2 separate regions of the Homo sapiens genome follow, and region 1 is linked to region 2. Evidence: promoter capture Hi-C in human tissues and cell types (Jung and others, 2019). All regions are on one chromosome and are shown on one strand. The core of a region is centred on a gene start or on the middle of the fragment in contact, and the rest is flanking DNA. Distances in the headings are between cores, read along the strand shown.

Region 1 (5,330 bases), core at 909-3,408, 540 kb after region 2:
TGAGTCTGAGTTTGGCTCTGATATTATATCAACTGCATGGGCAGCTGTGGTGTGGTGTGATGATGCTGGGATAGGCACTCAGATGGTTGAGTCTGAGTTTGGCTCTGATATTATATCAACTGCATGGGCAGCTGTGGTGTGGTGTGATGATGCTGGGATAGGCACTCAGATGGTTGAGTCTGAGTTTGGCTCTGATATTATATCAACCGCATCATTTTGGGGAAGACACAATTTCTCAGAATTTTATTTAGTTGTAAAATAAAGATAATGATATTACATGCTCTGTCTACCATCTAGAGTTTTTGTCAAGACAAACTGAAGTAAACCGTGTTAGAGAAAAATGTTACAAAATTTTAAGCGTGAAGTGAGTAAACAGTGACTCTGTCCTGAGACTACAGCGGAAAGCTGCCTCACAGGCCACATGTGAAAATCTTCTGCCAGAGAACATGAACACTCAATGAAAAATTGCCAAACATCTGAGGAAACCCATTAAAATGAAATAAACAAGACAAGTTCTTATAATCAAGGAAACATAGATAATAGAGCCATCAGCACAGGCCTTTAAAAGAAAAGCAATTATATTTAATATCTTTAAATAGATAAAAGAGGGCATTATATGCATGAAAGAAGAATAGGAAATTATAAAACAAGGACAGTTTTTTTTTTTTTTTTTTTTGATAGGGTCTCACTCTGTTGCTTAGTGTGGAGTGCAGTGAATGGCGTGATCATAGCTCACTGCAGCCTTGAACTCCTGGACAATCCTCCCGCCTCAGCTTCCCAAAGAGCTAGGAGTACAGGCACATGCTATGATGCTCAGCTAATTAACATTGTGTATGTGTGTGTGTGTGTGTGTGTGTGTGTGTGTGTGTGTGTGTGTAAAAATAGGATCTTGCTATGCTGCCCATGCTGGTCTTAAACTTCTGGTTTCAAGTGATCTTTCTGCCTCGGCTTCCCAAAGTGCTGGGATTACAGGCATGAGCCACTGTACCCAGCCCAAAATTGTTTTATATGAGACTAGTTAAAGAGCTTAAAGATGAACCATATGATTACTAAGGAACAGAATGGATTCAATCAAATTTTTATTAAAGCCCACCAGGTGCTCTCTGCTATCTGATGCAGGGGATACAATAATGGACAAAACCAGACATGGCCTCTGGACTCACATACTAATAAGTAAGAAAGGAATTTGTACAATAACCACACCAACCAATTTCAGACTGGGTTTGATGATGAGATGATTAGGGGGGTCAGGCAGAGCTTCCCTAGGGGAGTGACAACAGAGTTGAGATCTCAAGGATGAGTCGGAATTAACCAGGTGAAAAGGGAGAGTGAGTTCCAGGTAGAAAGGGCAGAATATGTAAATGTGCAAATCTAAGAGAATGCAGCAAGGCTGTGGTAGGTGGGCCAGAAAGACTGAGGGGGAGCCTTAGAGAGTCTAAGGTTGGGGAAGGGGTGAAGCAGGGACAGATCATGTCAACAAGAAGCCTTTATAATTTTGGACTTTAAGCCAACTTTTGTTAGGAAGGAAGGAAAATTCTGTTTTTGCAAAAAGAGATTTAAAACCCTCCTCCCATTATCCAGTATTCAGAATACTTTTCCTCAGAGAGAAAATGCAAACTTCAGGTTCGAGAAGGAGAGTTTTATTATCACACAGCTCACAGTCAGCGTTTTGCTGAGCACAGGAGGAAGTGAAACTGCCCATAGAAATCATGCAGTGATAAAACTGAGAGATGGGGCCCTTGGGGACCGCAGGTGGCAATTGTGCCAGTTGAGACAGGGACAGCCCCTGTGATCCATGTTCATGCTGAGGTTAAACAGAGCCCAGGCAGTGGGGAGGGGAAAACAAGGCAGCAACCTCTGAAAGAAGTAGATATGGCATGAGGAGGGAGGGAGAGAGGCACAGAGGAAGATAGAGACAGAGACAGAGAGAAGGAGGAGAAGAGGGCACACACTTAGTTCACGATGCCTTTGAGTTCTCTATTCCAGTTCTTATGAGGCCTTGCTGAGCTAGTGTTCTACTTTGTGGGTTTCCATGAACTTCCTTTTAAGGTTCCGCTTATATTCTTACAGCTAATCCCTTTTTAATCTCCTGAGAAAAGAAAGAAAACGAAGTAGAATGATAACTATTTTCTACTTAAAGACTGCCATATTCACAGGGAATAAGCAAAGGCTGAGATTTAGTAACAGTGTTCTTGTAATAAGAGGCTTGACATTCTAGCCTGACAGCAAGGAATAAAAGCAGAAGAACATTTTTCCTGGACCATAACCATTCCCTTAGCTGGTGGAATAAAGGTTATTGCCACATCCCTAAAGAAGAGCAGCTGAAGACATATAATAATTCTGTAATCTGTATAGTCAGATGCATATCAATATTTTGGTACTCTTTGATTTTTATACAAAATATGACTTTAGCCATTCTTAACCTCTTAATATCTTCTTCATACAGACACTAAAATAATTTTTGAAATATTACTGTAGACTAGCACTTCCCAAATAGTGTTCCTTGAAAGGCTATCATCTCTAGATATATAACTGTACTTTGTGTGATAAAAGACTAGTTGGTTAAAAAAATTGGGAAACACTCTTGGAGATTCAAAATGCACATTTGTATATTAAAGGCTCTGAGAAGTCCTTCAGTGAAGAAGCTTGTTGAACTTTAACCCAGCATGCCCCAAATTCATTTAACTATTTTCGCCCATGCTGGAGTGCAGTGGTGCGGTCTTGGCTCACTGCAACATCTGCCTCCTGGGTTCAAGTGACTCTCCTGCCTCAGCCTCCAAAGTAGCTGGGATTATAGCCACCTGCCACCATGACCAGCTAATTTTTGTATTTTTAGTAGAGACGGGGTTTCACCATGTTGGCCAGGCTGGTCTTGAACTCCTGACCTCAAGTGATCCACCCTCCTTGGCCTCCCAAGGTGTTGGGATTACAGGCGTGAGCCACTGTGCCTGGCCTAACTATGAAACCTTTTTTTTTAATGAGCACCTATTAAAATCCTTCTGGACACAAATAATATGAGGAATAGAGCTTAGGAAACACTGTTATTATTCTAAGAATGTTCATGTGGGCTATGGTGTGGTAAAGTTGGCATGACCGCAAGAGGGAATGAGAATAAAGCTTGAAAAGAAAAAGTTGATTATACTCACAGATCCCAGAGAGGAATTCGCCACATGCCATACTGGGCCACAGGAGAAGCACCAGGTTTGGGTCAGGTGGCAGAAGACAAGAGTGCGGGGAGAGCCTGAGATAGAGCTGGGGTTTCTGCGGGAAACGCAAGGCAGGGCAGAGTGGACAGATTAGGGCTGACTAGTTTGAATAATTCTGGTGGGCTTTGAGCTATAGCAGTGGTCTCTAGTTGCCTGGTACCTGGCACTGGGATGATTTAGGACAGAGGAAATATTGGCTTGATATGTGAGAGTTATAGAAGGAGGTGGTTGAGGCTAGAGATGTGGGATTGGTTTGTTTGTACATAAGAAACATACTCCTTGCTGAGTCTTTTACTGAGACTAAGAAGGGACTGGCCAGGAAGGAACAGTCTCCCCTTGGTCAGAAAGCTTTTTAAGATGTCAAAACATCACAAAATGTAAAAAATACAAAAACACAATCAATACAGTGATACAGGGATATTTTGGATGAGTGTACCCTGATTGACTTCAAAAGTCTAGATTTTGGAGACCAAAGTGGGCAAAAACCAAGTAAGATGAGCAATTCCTCATTAAAAAATTTTGTTTTTATTGTATCAATCACAGTCTAGTCAGAAAAAGAAACCAACCTATGTATTTCATACAGAGGATATTTAATACAGGCAATAGGCTACAACGATCTTAGACAGTCAAAGAGCAAAAAAGGGGAAATTAAGGTAAATCAGATATTATCTAGGGCTGGAGGAACAAAAGAATGGTGATGGGGTTTCCAGAACCTAAGAGCACAGAAAGTGGATTACAGCCTCAAAAGCGTGATGGTGGTGATGTGTGCCTGTAGTGCCAGCTACTTGGGAGGCTGAGATGGGAAGATCACTAGAGCCTGGGGAGGTTGAGGCTTCAGTGAGCCATGATCACACCACTGCACTCCAGCCTGAGTGACAGACCAAGACCCTGTCTCAAAAGAAGTAAAAAGCTGAGATGGTGGAAGAAACACTATCAGAAGAAGAAAGGAGAGAAGCAGGAGAAGAGAGAGAGACAGAGAGAGAAAGAGAGAGAGAGAGAGAGAGAGAAACAAAGACATCTCCCTTCCTCTCTTGTCTTGATTTTCCTGCCAGTTAGACAAAACTTAACTGGAAGCCAACTGCCAAAGAGATCTGGGAAATGTAGTTTTCAGACTTCCAGCCCCATTATTATAGAGGGAAGTTATGGGACCATGCTTAACAAAGCTCAGTTTTGGCTTGGGGCAGTTTTGTAAAGAGCTACATATTACTAGCTATTATTATGAGGCTATTGTTCAAGTCTTAATGGATCTGCCAAACAATCATTTTGACTTATACTCTCTTCTAAATTAATTAGTAGTTTGACTAATCAGTGTGATCATTTAAGGCCAACATGCCCCAAGGGAAAACGTGTAAATAAGTTTTTTTGAATTATTCAAATAAGAGAAAATTCTATTTGAAAAAGAAGTCTCTAGCAGTAAAACTTTTCACAGAAAAAAACCCCCAAAACCACACCTGAAAAGAACCTGAATGTTTAATAATAGGTGATGAACTAGGATAATTTTAGTATATTACTTAGACTCTTATGTATTTATCACAAATAATTAGTGTTGGTGTTACATAAGAAAACCCATTCTTGGGGAAGGATTAAATGCTAACCAAAGCAACTTATTTTTAATTAATATTTTTAGACTCTATGCTGTCATACTGAACTCACTGCTAGCTAAGAGACCTATCAGAGATTTAAATATATTTTCTCAAGGTTTTTTCTGGGTTTTCTTTTGGTTCTATCTATGTGACAGAGGCTCTTTCTAAAAGTATGTAGTTCACTGTGTGTTGGCTCCAGCAGTAACCATCCTCACTGCACCACACACTCCTCTGTAGAAGTGCATTCAGTGGGAGTTCCCTCCGGCCCCAGGACGGCAGCAGCAGCCAAGTGCTGAGTGGATTGAGTGCCAGGTGGATCCGAGACTTTTCCTCCCTTCCAGAAGGCACTAGAAGCTCCTCTAACTGAAGGCAGGGTGGGTCATGTGGGGCCGGCTGAAATGCTCCAACTTTTTCATAAAGCATGGGTGGTCCAGTTTAGACTGATGGGAATCTTCCTGTTATTCTTTTTAAATGGATGATACCGATGGAAATAAAAGGTGGAAAATATATTTAAAAAAAGAAAACCCATTCTTTTAAACAA
Region 2 (5,263 bases), core at 2,393-4,892:
ACCATATTGGCCAGGCTGGTCTCGAACTCCTGACCTCAAGTGATCTGCCCACCTCTGCCTCCCAACATGCTGGGATTACAGGTGTGAGCCACTGTGGCTGGCCTAATTTTTGTATTTTGGTAGAGACAGGATCTCAAGTGCCTGTAATCCTAGCAGATGGGGAGGATGAGGTGGGAGGATCACTTAAGGCCAGGAGTTTGAGACCAGCCTGGGCAACATAGCAAGATCCCACCTTTGCAAAAAATTAAAAAAAAAATTAAAGGCTTCAGAGAATTCTATTGCATGGATATCATTATTAATTTAAACATTCCTTCGGTAATTGGTATTTGGTTTATTTGCAAACAAAGCTGACATGTAGATTCCTTAAGTGTGTATCACTTCGTTTATGTGCTGCATCCCATCCATCATCCACTTTTTTTTTTTTTTGAGATGGAGTTTCACTCTTGTCGTCCAGGCTGGAGTGCAATGGCTCAATCTCGGCTCACTGCAACCTCCGCCTCCCTGGTTCAAGCTGTTCTCCTGCCTCAGTCTCCTGAGTAGCTGGGATTACAGGCACAGGCCATCAAACCCAGCTAATTTTTGTATTTTTAGTAGAGACGGGGTTTCACCACATTGGCCAGACTGGTCTCAAACTCATGACCTCAGGTGACCTGCCCGCCTCAGCCACCCAAAGTGTTGGGATTACAGGCGTGAGCCACTGTGCCCGGCCCCATCCACTTTTGTTCTCACATCCAGCGTCAGCCAGAGAACCAGCCTGACGCATCCAGGACAGTAGAGCCAAGGGGATGCCAGAGAATGAAGCTGGGGCCCTGATGATAACTGTGTCCCTCTGGACTGAACTCCGACTGGAGTCAGATGTACCCTGGCCCTCCCAGTTAGGTGCCAATACTTTCTCTCTGTTGCTCAAGCTGGTTTGGACTAGGTCTTTTTTAAATTACCTGCAGCATAAAAGGTTCTCACTGGCACACAATAAAATCCTCACAGCTGAAATGTTAAGTGAAGAAAGTATGATGAAAATGACACATAAATGTTGATAGCAATTACCTTAAAATATAAATGTCAAAGAATAGAAACTGGATGGAGGTGCACCCGGACTGAAGTTATGGATTGGTTGTAGGGAATTTGTGTGCTTCATTATAATTTTTTGATGCTTTTGAGTTTTCTACAATAATACGGACTACTTTCATAATCATTTGCCTCAAAACAGGTTCCCTGGGAGCATAGCCTGAGACAGGAGTTCCTGGGCATGTGACTTAGGGAAGGAGTGCCCTTCAGGAAGAACCTGGAAGGGAGTGAAGGAAGCAGGATTGTGAAGGGGAAGGAACCAAGCAAGGATGTGGCCTCAGGTCAAGTCTAGGCTTCGCCTGGTTGGGGAATGGGCCCTGAAGTGTAGATTGAGCCACAGAGGTGAACCGAGACAAGGGGGCTGGCCTTTTTTCTTTTTCTTTTCCTTTTTTTTTTTTTTTGAGACAGTCTCGCTCTGTCACCCAGGCTAGAGTGCAGTGGAGAGATCTCGGCTCACTGTGCCCTCTGCCTCCCGTGTTCAAGCAATTCTCCTGTCTCAGCCTCCTCCCTACATGCGCCCACCACCAAGCCAGGCTAATTTTTTTTTTGTATTTTTAGTAGAGACGGGGTTTCACCCCATTAGCCAGTATGGTCTCAATCTCCTGTCCTTGTGATCTGCCTGTCTTGGCCTTCCAAAGTGCTGGGATTACAGGTGTGAGCCACCGTGCCCGACCTTTTTTTTTTTTTAAAGACAGGATCTCACTCTGTCAACCAGGCTGGAGTGCAGTGCCATGATCATAGCTCACTGCAATACCACCACGCCCAGCTAATTTTAAAATTTTTTGTGGAGTGGGTGGGGGGGGTCTCCCTATGTTGCTCAGGCTGGTCTTGAGCTCCTGGGCTCAAGTGATCCTCCCGCCTCAGTCTCCCAAAGCACTAGGATTGCAGGTGTGAGCCACCATGCCTGGCTGTGGCTGACCCTTTGTATGCCTAAATCAGGCAGTCATTGGCTACCCCTGTCAGTGGGGGTGAAACCTCCAGGTGGTTTCTAGGCTAGCTGACTCCTGCCAGCCAAGCACAATTCTCCAGAGAACACAGGCATATAAGCCTTGTCCACCAGCGAAGCAGCAGCTGGGGCCGGGCACATTGGTGGTGAAGGCCTTCTGGGTGAGACATCAACAGTGTTTGCAACAATCATTTAAAGAGTTATTTAACATCAGGCTGGGTGTGGTGGCTCATGCCTGTAATCCTAACACTTTGGGAGGCTGAGGTAGGCAGATCACTTGAGGTCAGGAGTTTGAGACCAGTCTGGCCAACGTGGTGAAACCCTGTCTCTACTAAAAATACAAAAAAAAGCCGGGCGCAGTGACTCACGCCTGTAATCCCAGCACTTTGGGAGGCCCAGGTGGGCAGATCACCTGAGGTCTGGAGTTTGAGACCAGCCTGATCAACATGGAGAAATCCCCCTCTCTACTAAAAATACAAAATTAGTTGGGTGTGGTGGCGCATGCCTGTAATCCCAGCTACTCGGGAGGCTGAGGCAGGAGAATCTCTTGAACCTGGGAAGCAGAGGTTGCAGTGAGCCGAGATCACACCACTGCACTCCAATGTGGGCAGCAAGAGCGAGACTCTGTCTCAAAAAAAAAAAAAAAAAAAAAGAGAGAGTCATTAAACATCAAAAGGAAAAGAAAGCAAGCAATATGCAGACTGACTCTATAGAGGCTGGCTCTTTTCTCCCCTTGGCCTCTGCTGTCTATACTTACTAGTTGGCTGTCATTGAAACTTAACAAATGGCCAGGTGTGGTGGCTCATGCCTGTAATCCCAGCAGTTTGGGAGGCCAAGGCAGGCAGATCACCTGAGGCAAGGAGTTCGAGACTATCGACAAAGTGAGACTCCATCTCAAAAAAAAAAAAAACCAAAAAAAGAAAGAAAAAGAAACTTAACAAACATATGTAGAAGTCTTGGCTCTAGATAACTGAGAGAAATAGGACTGGCTTAGTGAGTTGCCAATTATATTCTAATAATAGGATTCTTTATTAAAACAACTGTGGAAGAAAACAGTGTTTGCTTTTTATTCCTTTTGAAATCTGGGGCACTTTGCAAAATGGAAATCAATGCCTCGACTTGCATTGGTGTGTGATCTGGGGTTTTTGCTTCTGCAGGAGAAGCCCTATCTGGCTTATTGGCTGCCTGCCTTGCCCTATGTCTTTCTTTCTTTTTTTTTTTTTTAATTTGTATAAATGTGTGAAGTACAAGTGTAATTTTGTTAGATGCATACATCGCATAGTGGTGAAGTCAGGGCTTTTAGGGTATCCATAACCCCAACAATGTACATTGTATCTGTTAAGTAATCTCCCATTATCCTTGCCCTGTCATCTAAGGAGTGGGCTTGTTACTTTGGACTGAGCCACCTGGGGCTAGAGAAGAGAAGGCATTGAGTGAGGGAAACGGGCTTGGGAATTCCGGAGATTGTTATCCTGCCCTGCCCGCTGTCTGAGGGGATTCTCCTCAAGTACCCTGGAATGTTCCTGTGGCCCCTGTGGATCGCCACCACAAAGATCATGAGGTTCTGTTGCCCTGGCAACCCGTTGTCCAGCGCCTCTGCACTGGGGCTGCCAAGGTTCCAGGAAGAGGCAGGACTGCCCGGCCCAGCCTTGGAGGAAGACTTCTGGGCAGAAGCGGAACACAGGAGCAGAGACACATAGTCTTGGCTCCAGTTTCGTTTCAGTTATGCCCACCCTTTCAGTGTTCATGGATGTGCCCCTCGCCCACAAGCTAGAGGGCAGCTTGTTAAAGACCTACAAACAAGATGATTACCCGAACAAGATATTCTTAGCCTATAGAGGTAGATGCCTAGCAGTTCTGAAGTATAAGACTTAAGTGATGGTAACTGCCTCTAGGAGGACAGTGTTCCCTGCTGCAGGGGGAGGGGTGCAGCCCAAGCTTCTGTGGGTGGAGAGATCTTTTCTTGTTAACAGAATTACCCAGTGGGGAAAAGTGCAGATAAGGTCCCAGGTCATTCCATGCTCTCTGCCCTTCTCTGGGGGCTTCTAGGGATTTGGTGAGAGCTATGTCCTCTTCCACAACTCTATGCTTGGGGGCCTGCATGGCCATCCCACACTTCTTCAGATTCTTACCTCCTCTCTCTCTCTTTCTCTTTCTCTTCCTGTTCTTGAACCAAGAATGGTTCTCCAGATTGAGCTTTCTGCTATGCAACTGGGGCTCACCACTGTGAAAGTCAGGGTTACCTTTATTTAGCTTCATCTACCTATAACTCTCATTTTGCATATATATATATATATATATATATATATATATATATATATATTTTTTTTTTTTTTTTCTTGAGACAGGGCCTCACTCTGTTGCCCAGGCTGAAGTGCAGTGGCAAGATCTCAGCTCACTGCCACCTTTGCCTCCTGGGCTCAAACCATCCTCTTGCCTCAGCCTCCTGAGTAGCTGGGACTACAGGCGCTGGTCACCATGTCTGGCTGTTTTGTATTTTTTTGTAGAGACAGGGTTTCATCATGTTGCCCAGGCTGATCTTGAACTCCTGAACTCAAGTGATCCACCCACCTTAGCCTCCCGAAGTGCTGGGATTACAGGCCTGAGCCACCAATCCTGGGCTTGTATAATTTTTAACCTTTAAAATGGCATAGGTTTCAGTTGTCTTTTTTAAAAAGACAAAAATAATACACATTCACTAACAGCATATTCTTTTCATCAAGGAGAAAAGAAAAGGGAAAGTTGTATTTTCACAGGCACCTTCCCACAGCCCCATGGAGTCCAGGAGAGATTTGTTTGCAGGCTGTCTGCAGAGCTCAGCCCTGGGGGCCCAAACCAGGCATCTGGAGCTCCCTCTGTGGTTTTCCTCACAGTCTGCATGACAAATGAAGGCCATCCCTGGGTTTCTCTCGTGGTGCAGAAGACTCGACTACAGATTTCACAGGATCCCTCCCTGAATTATGAGTACTTGCCCACCATGGGCCTGAAATCATTCATCCAGGCCTCTCTAGCACTCCTCTTTGGAAAGCACAGCCAAGCCATTGTGGAGAACAGGGTGAGAAGGTGGGCCCTCCCCTGGCTCATTTAGACACAGAGAGTGGCGATCTGGGTCTGCACAACCTTAAACCCGAAGGGGACCTCGGAGGGCCCCCTGGTATTGATAAAAGAGATACCTGAGGCTCAGAGAGTCCACAAGTCCTTAGCCATCGAGTCAGGATCGGAATCTCAGTCCAGTGGTATTCCCACCTGCTC

What was found. The method cuts DNA at HindIII sites, captures the fragments that hold promoters and counts their contacts. A contact is called where the count stands out against the background at its distance.
Region 1: a fragment that was not itself captured here is called in contact with the fragment with the promoter of GOT1L1 in region 2 in 1 of the 25 tissues and cell types used here (spleen).

The regions. Positions count from the first base shown.
Region 1 is chr8:37,398,464-37,403,793 of GRCh38, reverse strand. It overlaps a transcript of LINC01605 not described here. Among named protein-coding and RNA genes, the nearest start is that of LINC01605, 200 kb to the left of the region's middle. The HindIII fragment of the contact is 7,143 bases long and covers 1-5,330 here.
Region 2 is chr8:37,938,503-37,943,765 of GRCh38, reverse strand. GOT1L1 (glutamic-oxaloacetic transaminase 1 like 1) reads left to right here and starts at 3,642. Exons shown (of 9, transcript NM_152413.3): 1 at 3,642-3,851; 2 at 4,885-5,066. The coding sequence starts at 3,737. RefSeq lists an enhancer at 3,620-4,136. The HindIII fragment of the contact is 11,209 bases long and covers 1-5,263 here.